Regions from separate parts of the Homo sapiens genome. Here region 1 is linked to region 2. The links are contacts of gene promoters, found by promoter capture Hi-C in blood cells and fetal thymus (Javierre and others, 2016). All regions are on one chromosome and are shown on one strand. The core of a region is centred on a gene start or on the middle of the fragment in contact, and the rest is flanking DNA. Distances in the headings are between cores, read along the strand shown. Region 1 has its middle 61 kb from the start of PCGF5. Region 2 holds the start of PCGF5 (polycomb group ring finger 5).

Region 1 (5,198 bases), core at 482-2,981, 60 kb after region 2:
TGAAATGTGTCTGTCCTTTGACACTTTATTTTGATCCTTCTCTGTTCTCTGCCAGAATACCCCTTAGCCGCCTCCACCTGTCAAACTTTGTTGGACTCAGCTCCTGTAGCCGTCTCCTACCATCTCTGTGCAGTCTTCCTGCTCCCCCAAGCAGAATCCCCCCTTGTGGCTGGCATCATTCTGACCTGGGGGTCAGTTGTGTGCATGTGCTGTACCCTCTCTGATCTGTGGATTCCTTAAAGAGGAGTCTGCTTTTAACAGAGCTCTGGTGATGGGAGAAATGAAAGCTGTAAGACTAATATTGCCTCCGAGTGTCTGCAGCTCTGGTGAGACTGGAAAAGTTCAGGAGTCTTTATCAAGAGGCTCTCCTGATAGGTCCGCAAACCTCATCTTGCAGGAAGCAAACACTTCCAAAAACTGAGCATGCCCTCCATTTTTCCTGCGTCTCTATATCTCCTCCCCACCACACCTAGCTATGTGCCCTCCATACTCATAATGGGCACTTAAGTAACCCTTGAGGAATAAAATTGAATTCTACAGAGATGTTCCTTAAGCCAAGGCTGGCGGTGATCAAAGAGAATAGAGTAAATCATGAAAAAGTAGACATGAACCCAGTCATTTTACAGCTAATTCCTAGGCTAAGAGCCTTCCGGCCCTGTTAGGTAGTGTGGGTTTGTCGCTGTCTGATCACACACTGAAGTAGACCCTGACCCTTCTTGACTCCTGGGACTGCTAGATTTTTTTCTCCGATGCGCTGCTTGCAGTCCCATTAGGAAAAGTGTCTTTGAACTCTGCAAGTGAATCCAGCGAAAGTATTCTTTCCCAAGCGAGTCAATAGCAATAATTTAATGCAGCAAATTAGTTACAAGTGTTGAAAGAACTGGACGTTCAACTAGGGTAAGGTGAGGCAATCCTGAGATTAGCAACTGCTGGACGTGCCTTCTCCCCTGAGGCTGGAGGGGCAAAGAGAGGAGACAGCCGGAACCCTGGAGGGCTTGTCCAATAGGAGTTGGAGCCACAAAGTTAGTGCAACTACTGCGGCAGACATCTTCCAAAGTAGGGGATGAGAGTCCCCCTGGCTTCTCCCTGCCTCCCACCCTCCAAGCCCACCCAGTGGTGGAAAGCAGGAGAAGCCAGTGGACAAGATGACAGAGGGCAGGGCTCAGAATCCCTACAGAATATGTGACAGCCGCAAAAGGAGAATGGGTCTGAGAGCCCAGCGGCAAATGACTGGCACCTGGGCTTGGGTGCTGCACCTGGTTGCCTCTTCCTTTAGGCCGGATTCCGCAGTGCAGCAGGAACTTTCTCTTCCCGAGGCCTAGAATTCTCTCCTTCTTACTTGTCCCTCTTTGCCCTTCTGCTTCCATTACCGTTCTATCCTCTTCTTCGCCGTCACTCCCTTACATTTCTTTTTTCTGTCTCGTCTTGTGTACTCTGGCTCTCGTTTTTTCTTTGTGTTCCCATATATCTCCGCCTGACTTCTTTTCCCCCCCAGAGTCTCTTCTCCCCTCTTCTTGTCCTACTCCTCCCTGGGCAGGATGGCAGCTTTCTTCAGCATGAAGGAGATGACCAGTTGCCTATGGAAGGAAGAGATTAGGAATTATCCTGTTGCTGCCCTTCCAGACAGTGTAGTAGATATTTTACAAACGTTCTCATTTAATCTTCATCTCACTCCTACTAGCTGGGCAACATTTAATATAATCTGGTGACTTTGCTATTGCCTGTCACAAGGAAGGCTTTGTGCCCGTCACCAACAACACTGCTGACGGTTCTCTTACCTTTCCTGTACGTGGTTCCCTGCAACCTTTCTTCTTATCCTACATCTTTTCCTTTCATTAGCACAGATACTTCGCCCAAATCCCAACGCCCAACAGTCTAATACATCCGCACTTTAAATCCCCAAAGACTGAGAATGGCTATTTAGAGGAGGTGCATTTCAGCTGGCACTTGAAGGATGGATAGATTTTCAACAGATGGAAATGGAGGAAGGGTATTCTTGGTGGAAGAGTAAATTATGTGGTTTACGTTGACTGAAACAAGGGATAACTAAGAAATGAAGCCATATTTCAGAAACTTGTCTTCAGCTCTCAGTTCTCTGAGACTATTCCGAAACACAGATTAACCATGAGCGTATTAAATATAGATATGATTTATATAATTAGAATCATAGTGTTTAAAGCCAGAAAGAATTTTCAACATTGTTTGGTGCAACGTGTCCAGTTTTAAGTGAGGGAACTGAAGCCCAAAAGACTTAATACCTGGGATATCATAATGATTAAACATGGGCATTAGAGTTTGACTACCTGTATTCAAATCCCTACTTTAACAAATTTTAGTTTATCTGACCTTGAATTATCTGTGGGTAAGTTTTCTTATCTATAAAATAGAGAAAAATGATAGAATCTACTTCAGTGGGTTGTCATGAGAATGAAATATCGTCATATGTAAAACACTCTTGCCCAGTTCAGACTGCCATAACAAACTACCATAAACTGGGTGGCTTAAACAACAAACATTCATTTCTCACAGTTCTGGAGGCTGGAAGTATGACATCAGAGTGCCAGCACAGTCAGGGGTTGGCTGAGGGCCTTTCTTCCTCCTCTGGAGTGCTGACTTCTCATGGTATCCTTACATAGTGAAAAGACACTGAGCCTCGGAGCTCTCTGGGGTTCCTTTTATGAGGGCAGTCATCCCATTAATGAGGACTCCACTCTCATGACTTAATTACTTCCCAAAGGCCCCACCTCCCAATACCATCACACTGGAGGGTAGGATTTCAACATATGAATTTGAGGGGAGCCATGAACATTCAGTCAATTATAGACATGTTATAGGTGCCTGGCATATAGACAGTACTCATTAAATATAGGCAAAAAAAAATTATGACTTCCTGTGGCTATCCAGCTAGTAAATACCAGAACTAGAACTGGTACCCCAAGTTTTTGTGGCCCTAATTGTATGTTCCCTGCATTATTTGAAGCTATGTCTTATGATGCTTGTTTAACACCATCTGTGAAGATATGGTGCTCCTCTAGTCTGCTGTTTAAAGAAGTGCTCAGTTATCTTTCTAGCTCCAATTTCTCTACATTTCCTGCTTCCTGCTTCCTGCTTCTGCTAGCCCTGGATCCCCCCACCAGTCCTCAGCAATCTTAGCATACTGTGAAGTTCCAGGGGAGAAAGGGAGCAGGAAAAATTATCAGCAAACCTGTATTTTATAGTCAACTGTTTAGGTTACAAGTTCTGATATAGTAAAATTTTACTAATTTAAATTTCAAAGGGCCAAAAATATTGAGTTAAAGATATTCAAATTATCTGTTATTCTTCAGCCTACAGGGTGTCAACTCTACCAGCTTAAATTTTAGTAGTTCCTTAGGGGGATTCACTGGGACCAAGAAAAAGCATTGTTTGGGGTATCTAATTCTTCAACAAAGTTGTGATGGAAGAGAACAAATTTCTTTGTCCCTCTTCCTTTTTACCTAGTCGCTGGTCCCACTTTTCAAAACTCCTCCAGCCCCATGACCTTTATGTAGTCCACTCTCTCTTGACCATAAGCATCTTGAGGCAATGAACCACAACTTACTTGCCTTTTAATGTCTAGAACCTAGCTCAATATCTGGAGTATAATAGGCAGCCACATGTTGTTGAACTGACTGACTTGAGTAATGCTGCACCAAATACCAAAGGAATCCCTTCCTCCTCCCCCTTCAAATCTTTGTCTCCTCAGTTCGCCGTAGCTAGTTGTCATCCTGTTACCCTAATGCACCGGAAAGCATGGTAACAGCTGAATGTGAAATAAATGTGCATTTTATATTATGAAGTACATTTAAAGAGGTTTATTTTAATGGTGTAAAGCCAGGCAGTATTTTAAGAAGATCAGGAAGACATTTTTGGGGCAGCTGGACTTTCCCAACACCTTCATATCACACCACACAAACTGAAGCTTATCTCTCCTATAAATAAAGTCTACTTGACTTTCATTGTTACACATTTTACTTTAGATTTCTTAGGTTAATTGTCAACAGCCTGTATTCTACATATGGGTGTATTAATTAATCCTGCCTAAGTCATTTCTTAAAAGGCACCATTTGTCTTAATCTTAAAAAGTAAGTAATTGTCCCACTTCTCTCTTTTACTTCAAGGCCAGACTAATGATCCAATACCTTGATCACTCACTGCCTCTTGAATTCCTGAAATCTACCTTCTACTTCCTCTAATTCATTTACATGCTTCCTCTAGGAAGTTGGAAGGAATCCAAAGGATTAATTCTAGATCAACTTATCATTTTTGAAAGAGGAAATTGAGGAACAAAAATGTTAGTGGCGGAATCTCCAGTTCCCACAGCACTCATCCCATGCTCCATCCTCTTATCATGTGTCCTTAAAACACAGCTAAAAGTGAATTTCCCACTGTCAACTCCCCTCCTGGCTTCCCTGTTTATGCCAATCACCACCATCCATTGGGCTCTTTAGGATTAAAATGGGCGATCTTTGATGACTCCTTCTCTTTAGGCCTCTACTTCCACTTTGGGATGTCTCTCTTGCTTGTCTTTTTTGTCTGAATTTTCCCATGAATCAGGGCATTTTCTCTTTACAACTGTTATTACAATAGGTTGCTAATGGTTTCACTGTCTCCAAATTCTTCCTCTTACAGAGTGAACCCAGCAGAAGAACCAACTTCAGTCAAAAATTTTATAGGCATAGTAAAATGGTGCCATTTTGCCATATAAAATCAAATTCAACATGCATTCAGACTATCAATAAAATATGAGTTTATATTGTCAAGCCTTTCTGGTTCTGAAATATATAGTAATAACTAGCTATGTGATCTTGGGCACATTTAATTCTATGAATTGCAATGTCCTCAGTCTGTTAACTGTTGATATTGTTAGTATATGTGCCTAACTCAAAGGGTTGTTTGAAAATTAAATGGGATAACAAATGTAAAGTACTTAATAGTAATAGTTGCAATAACTATTTGTTGTGGTCCTACTATTGATCAAACATTAGTCTAAGCTATTTAAATGAATTATGTCACATCAACCCTATAACATGGATACCATTATTATTTCTAGATGAGAAAACTGAGGCCCAGAGAAGTTTAAAAACTTGCTTAAGGTCAACTAGCTAAGAAGTGGCTAAACCAGGATTCAAAACTGGGCAGTCTTACTTGGACAAACCTGTACACCATTCTGTTACATG
Region 2 (4,987 bases), core at 852-3,351:
GCATGAGAACTAGCATCCAGATTTATCATGAGATCGTTGATCATCACTCCTTTTGGTGGTTCCGCTTTCCCATGTCTGTTTCCAAAATCATTTCAAAAAGATGAGAGAAAAAAGCGTCAAATTCCTCATAATGTATTAATGTCATTCTATTAACAGCAAGTGTTACATGTTCCCAATTGGGTGAATAGGTGAATAGAACATATCCTTCATTGTATCATTAACTTGCAAATCTGCTATAATTCAGAATAATGACAAATTCATCCAGTCCTGGAACCTCAACTACCACCTCTATACTAATGACACCCAAAGCTATTAACTACAGTTTGATATCTTTACCTCTTCACTAATGCATTTTAACTATCTGCTTGACTGCTCTATTAGGAGTCCCTGCCAATACAAGTTAAAAGATTAAAAACTTAAGTAATTATCCTCCCTATCAAAATGTTCCCCATTTCCATTTTTAACCCTTCATCCAGTTACGAGTCAAACCAAGTTGATATCCTCTGCTATTCCATGCCCGGCTGCTCTACTTGTATATCACCTCTCCACCTGCAGTCCATCTTATATTCTGCTACGAGGCACATTTTATTTTGTGACACTTGGTTGGGTCTTCTTATCAACGAATGTCAGTGTCTTCTCTTTACAAACAGAAAAATGTTTCCCATTCTGTCACATAAGACCTTCTACAGGTTAACCTTAATATACCCTTCAACAACTTTCTTCAACCTGAAGGGATCACTCCTCTCCCACCGTCTCCTCTGCAGGTTCTAAGCACTCTATCCAACACGCCCTTTCTCTCCTCTGTCTGCATGCCACCTATCCTTCAAGCCCTTCTCCAATGCTATTCTCAGTGCAATCTTTCCCTAGTTTTTAATGCTTACTTCTTTCCTATTACATTTGCCTTTTATTTTGATTTATAGTTACGTTCATTCTTTACCTTCTTTGTTAGACCAAAAACTCTTCAATAGAAACTGGTCATATTTAGTAGATATATAACCTGGATAATGCTACTTTCCTGTCTCAGGTTTTTTTTTTTTTTTAACTGTAAAATATGTATCCTCTCAGAAAACACAACATGAAAGGTGTTGATTTTCCTAAGTGCATTCTATAAACAGGAACTTTCCCCCATCTTAGCTGTTAACTCATTGGTAAATATAAAGCAACCGGAAAGGTAAAAGGCATTCCATCAACACATACCCACTGCGAATGTGCAGGGAATAGGCTCTACGTGTAATCATCCTATCCTCTTGGGAAACCGTATTCGTGCGTGTAACAGAAAGCAAGCATAATTAAAAGACAGGGAATCAGGGTTCTGGCCCTTACCCCTGTATGACCTTCAGCAAACCGTTTCATATCTGAGCCTGGGTCTCGGCTTCCTCCTCTATAAGTTGGGATTAACTGCCTTGCCTTTCCCACAGGTTTGCCATGAAACTCCAAAGTAAGAGAAAGTCCTCTGGAAGAGGAAATGCACGGTCCCGACCTGGGGTGGTACTAAGATCCTAAGGCACAGAGCCCTGTGACCAAGACAGTTAAGGGAAGCAAGAACTTGCAATGACGGGGCGGGGGCAAGGGGGAACTTTTCTGCGTTCTCCGGCAGGACCCAGCGGTACAGCCCTGTGGGGTCCCAGCACAGCCGCGCCCGCCCGGCAGGTGCGCGGGCCCAGGCCCCGCGGGCGCGCTGCTCAGGCCGGGGAGAGCGAGCAGCCTTTCCCGGGGCCGGCGTCCGCAGCCGGCCGCTCTCCCCGCCGAGGTAGGCACAGCTCCGAAGCCCCCGCCCGGGTCGGTAGCCCCCTGCACCCGAAGGGCCCTCCCGGCTCCAGGCTGGGCCGGCCAGGGCAGGTGTCTGGAGGTGTCGCTCTCGCCTGAGGCGCAAACTTGGGTGAGGAGTCTGGCGTCCCTGCAGCTCCCCAGCCCGCCCGGTACCTACCCAGCGGCCGCCACCGCCGCCGCTCCTCGCCCGCCAGCGCGCCGGCCTCAGAGTGAAGGAAAGTGAAACAGAAACAGCACCCGCCGCGGCCTGGCCGGTCCCCGCGCCCCGTCTGCTCTCCCCCTGCAGGCGGGAGCGCGCCGGCTCTGTGGGGCCACTCGGCTCAGGCCCGACAGGGCGCGGCGGGCCTCGGGGCCCAGGTCCGGTGCCGCCTCCAAGGGCAACTCCACCCACTTCCAACCGGCGGCACCGCCCGCCCCGCCGCCCGGCCACGCCCCCGCCGCCCGGCCACGCCCACCACCACGCCCGGAGGCCGCGCCTGCCGCCTGCGCTGCTCGCAGGTGCAGCTGCCGCCCTGGCTCCCTGTGCTACACGTAGCTCTGGCCAAATATTATCTCGGTTCTTCTTATCCTCACCGTCCACCCCTTCGGTTGTTTACATCATAACAATGACTGGCATATTTTCCCTGGAGGGTTTAAAAGCAACGGTCAGTGATGAGACTGACGCACCCTGAGAATTTGTCTCTTCAGCTGCGTCTTCCCCAAGTCTGTCCCACCTGCGCCGAAGTGGGGACAAAGCCATCCCTTGATTTGCACCTTATCTGAAAATGACTGACAAACTTGTTACTGTAGTGTGGGTCCAGAGATCATGGTCGTTGACAACTATAAGCAAACGGGAACGTTGTGGAGGTTGAGGGTGGGGGGAGGGTGAGTGGTAAAGAAGCATTACTGTTTGCAACGTTCAAAACAAACAAAAACCCAGTACTCTTTCTAGTGGACTTTGAGATCTACAAGAGACCATTCACTGCAAAAACCTTCATTCAAAAATGTGTATTCTAGAAGCCAGAGCAGTGATGGCTTAAGAAAATGACAATAATAGAGGGTAGGGGAGACTGTCAATGCAAAATATTTGCTTTTTCTCCAACTGATAGGCGTTAACTTCTTACTAAAGTGATAGATGACTCTAAGTGGCAAACCAACAAACTTAACAACCGCTAGTCCAGCAGCCATACAAGTGTTCAAAGATCCATTTCAAATTTAAAATGCATCAAGCAGTAGACCAAGGCAGCTTTTTAAACTATCCATTTTATAATCAAACTTTGACATGTTTAAAAATTGCCATTTCTAATATCACAGCAGGAGCAATACATTTTCTGAAACAGCTTTAAATGACCACATTCGTATAGTCCTTTAAAGAACCATTTTCCAAAATCATACATGCCAATGTCCAAGCTGGGATCAACTTCATAAGTCGCAGCAATCACAATGAGTAAGAGAAAACAAGTGAGGTCAAATGACTTCATGGCAGTAGGATTACTCTTTATGCTTCATATCTTTCATTTCAGAGACTAAACAGAACAGTATGTGAAAAATCACACTACTTCTAGTGTGTTTAAAATATGCATTGGAGGATATTACTGTATATATACCACAATATATAAAAAAGACTTGGTATGTTCCTATTTTGTGTCTGAAACTATTTTAAATATGTTTTAAAAGAATAACAGTGGAGTCCAGGGGGCTTAAATGTGATTGGTGACCTATCACAAGTGCGGTTAATCAGTATTCCTGAAGGAAACGAGCTTGAAGGCGGGTTTTAGGATGACATATGTTAGCAATGAAGGAAGGGGTCACAAACATGTGATACAGCAGTACCTGAGGATGAATGTGGAGGTGGGGTTGCCAGAATGGACTTGGGATGAGGGAGAACTACAACTTTTATAAGGCAATCTGTGCTTTGTGTCTGGAGAGGCAGCAATAGTTTGCAGTTAAGTGTTCTGTGGTTTCGCCTCTGCCTTCTTCAGCAACCATTCCATCTCTCCCACCCCAATTTAAAAAAATGCACACATACACAAAATAAAAACAAGTTTAAAAACTCAAACATTTGTCTGGTTAAAAAAATAATAATAGGCCTGGCACGGTGGCTCATGCCTGTAATCCTAGCACTTCTGGAGGCCGAGGTGGGCGGATCATGAGGTCAGGAGTTTGAGACCAGCCTGGCCAATATGGCGAAACCCCATCTCTACTAAAACAAAAATCAGCCGGGCATGGTGACATGCGCCTGTAGTCCCAGCTACTCAGGAGGCAGAGGCAGGAGAATCGCTTGAACCTAGGAGGTGGAAGTTGCAGTGAGCCGAGATCGCACCACTGCATTCTAGCCTGGGAGACAGAGCAAGGCTCTGTCTCAATAATAATAATAAAATAAGAATAATAACAAAAGTAATGGTAAGAGGGAGTGTTGTGAAATGGCAACTTTCCTGTGTGATGTGTATGCAGATTGTAAGTATTAAAACATGGGACTTTCAGCTGCTGTGCTGCCTCTCCTTCTCCCCTGGGGCTCCTTACCAGTTACTTATCCTAGTCTAGTCCCTTGGTACTGCCAGTGGGGGCAGAGGACAAATGACGGAAGCTACAACATGAGGGGGTAGCTCTGATAACAAATCTCAAGTACCAGTGGGACCCTCAAGTAAACAAAGGCCTGGAAGCAACTGGATATAGGACCAGGGGAAAAAAAAAGGCAGGATAAAGGAATCATAGCTGGGAGTCCCCTTATCAATAATGTACTTCAGCTTTCTCATTTTATAGATGTAGAAACTAAGATCCTGAGACGTGGTGAATTCATAATTACAGAGCTGATTCTGGTAGAGCCAAGACAAAAACAAAGGTGTCAGCTTCAGTTTTCTTTAATACCTCTTGAGAGTACTTCTCAAGTCCCAGAACTTAAGGGAGGTCTGGTAAGAAACAGATTAGGGCTGCGCACGGTGGCTCACGCCTGTAATCCCAGCACTTTGGGAGGCCAAGGCGGGCAGATCAACTGAGGTCAGGAGTTCAAGACCAGCCTGGCCAACATGGTGAAATCCTGTCTCTACTAAAAATACCAAAATTAGCCAGGCTTGGTGGCAGGTGCCTGTAATCCCAGCTACTAGGGAGGCTGAGGCAGGAGAATCACTTGAACTTGGGAGGTGGAGGTTGCAGTGAGCCAAGATCGCGCCATTGCACTCTAGTCTGGGGCACAAGAGCGAGACTATGTCTAAAGAAAAAACACACAGATTAACTTTTT

What was found. Contacts are between HindIII fragments. The CHiCAGO score rates a contact against its expected background, and 5 or more counts as called.
Region 1: a fragment that was not itself captured here is called in contact with the fragment with the promoter of PCGF5 in region 2 in 4 of 17 cell types (total CD8 T cells, naive CD8 T cells, naive CD4 T cells and 1 more); the score reaches 7.4 in total CD8 T cells.

The regions. Positions count from the first base shown.
Region 1 is chr10:91,156,933-91,162,130 of GRCh38, reverse strand. It overlaps a transcript of PCGF5 not described here. Among named protein-coding and RNA genes, the nearest start is that of PCGF5, 61 kb to the left of the region's middle. The HindIII fragment of the contact is 4,422 bases long and covers 1-3,942 here.
Region 2 is chr10:91,217,777-91,222,763 of GRCh38, reverse strand. It overlaps PCGF5 (polycomb group ring finger 5), which reads right to left and starts at 2,101. Exons shown (of 10, transcript NM_032373.5): 1 at 1,928-2,101; 2 at 1-75. RefSeq lists silencers at 1,478-1,772, 1,462-1,921, 1,992-2,301 and an enhancer at 2,492-2,561. The HindIII fragment of the contact is 12,523 bases long and covers 1-4,987 here.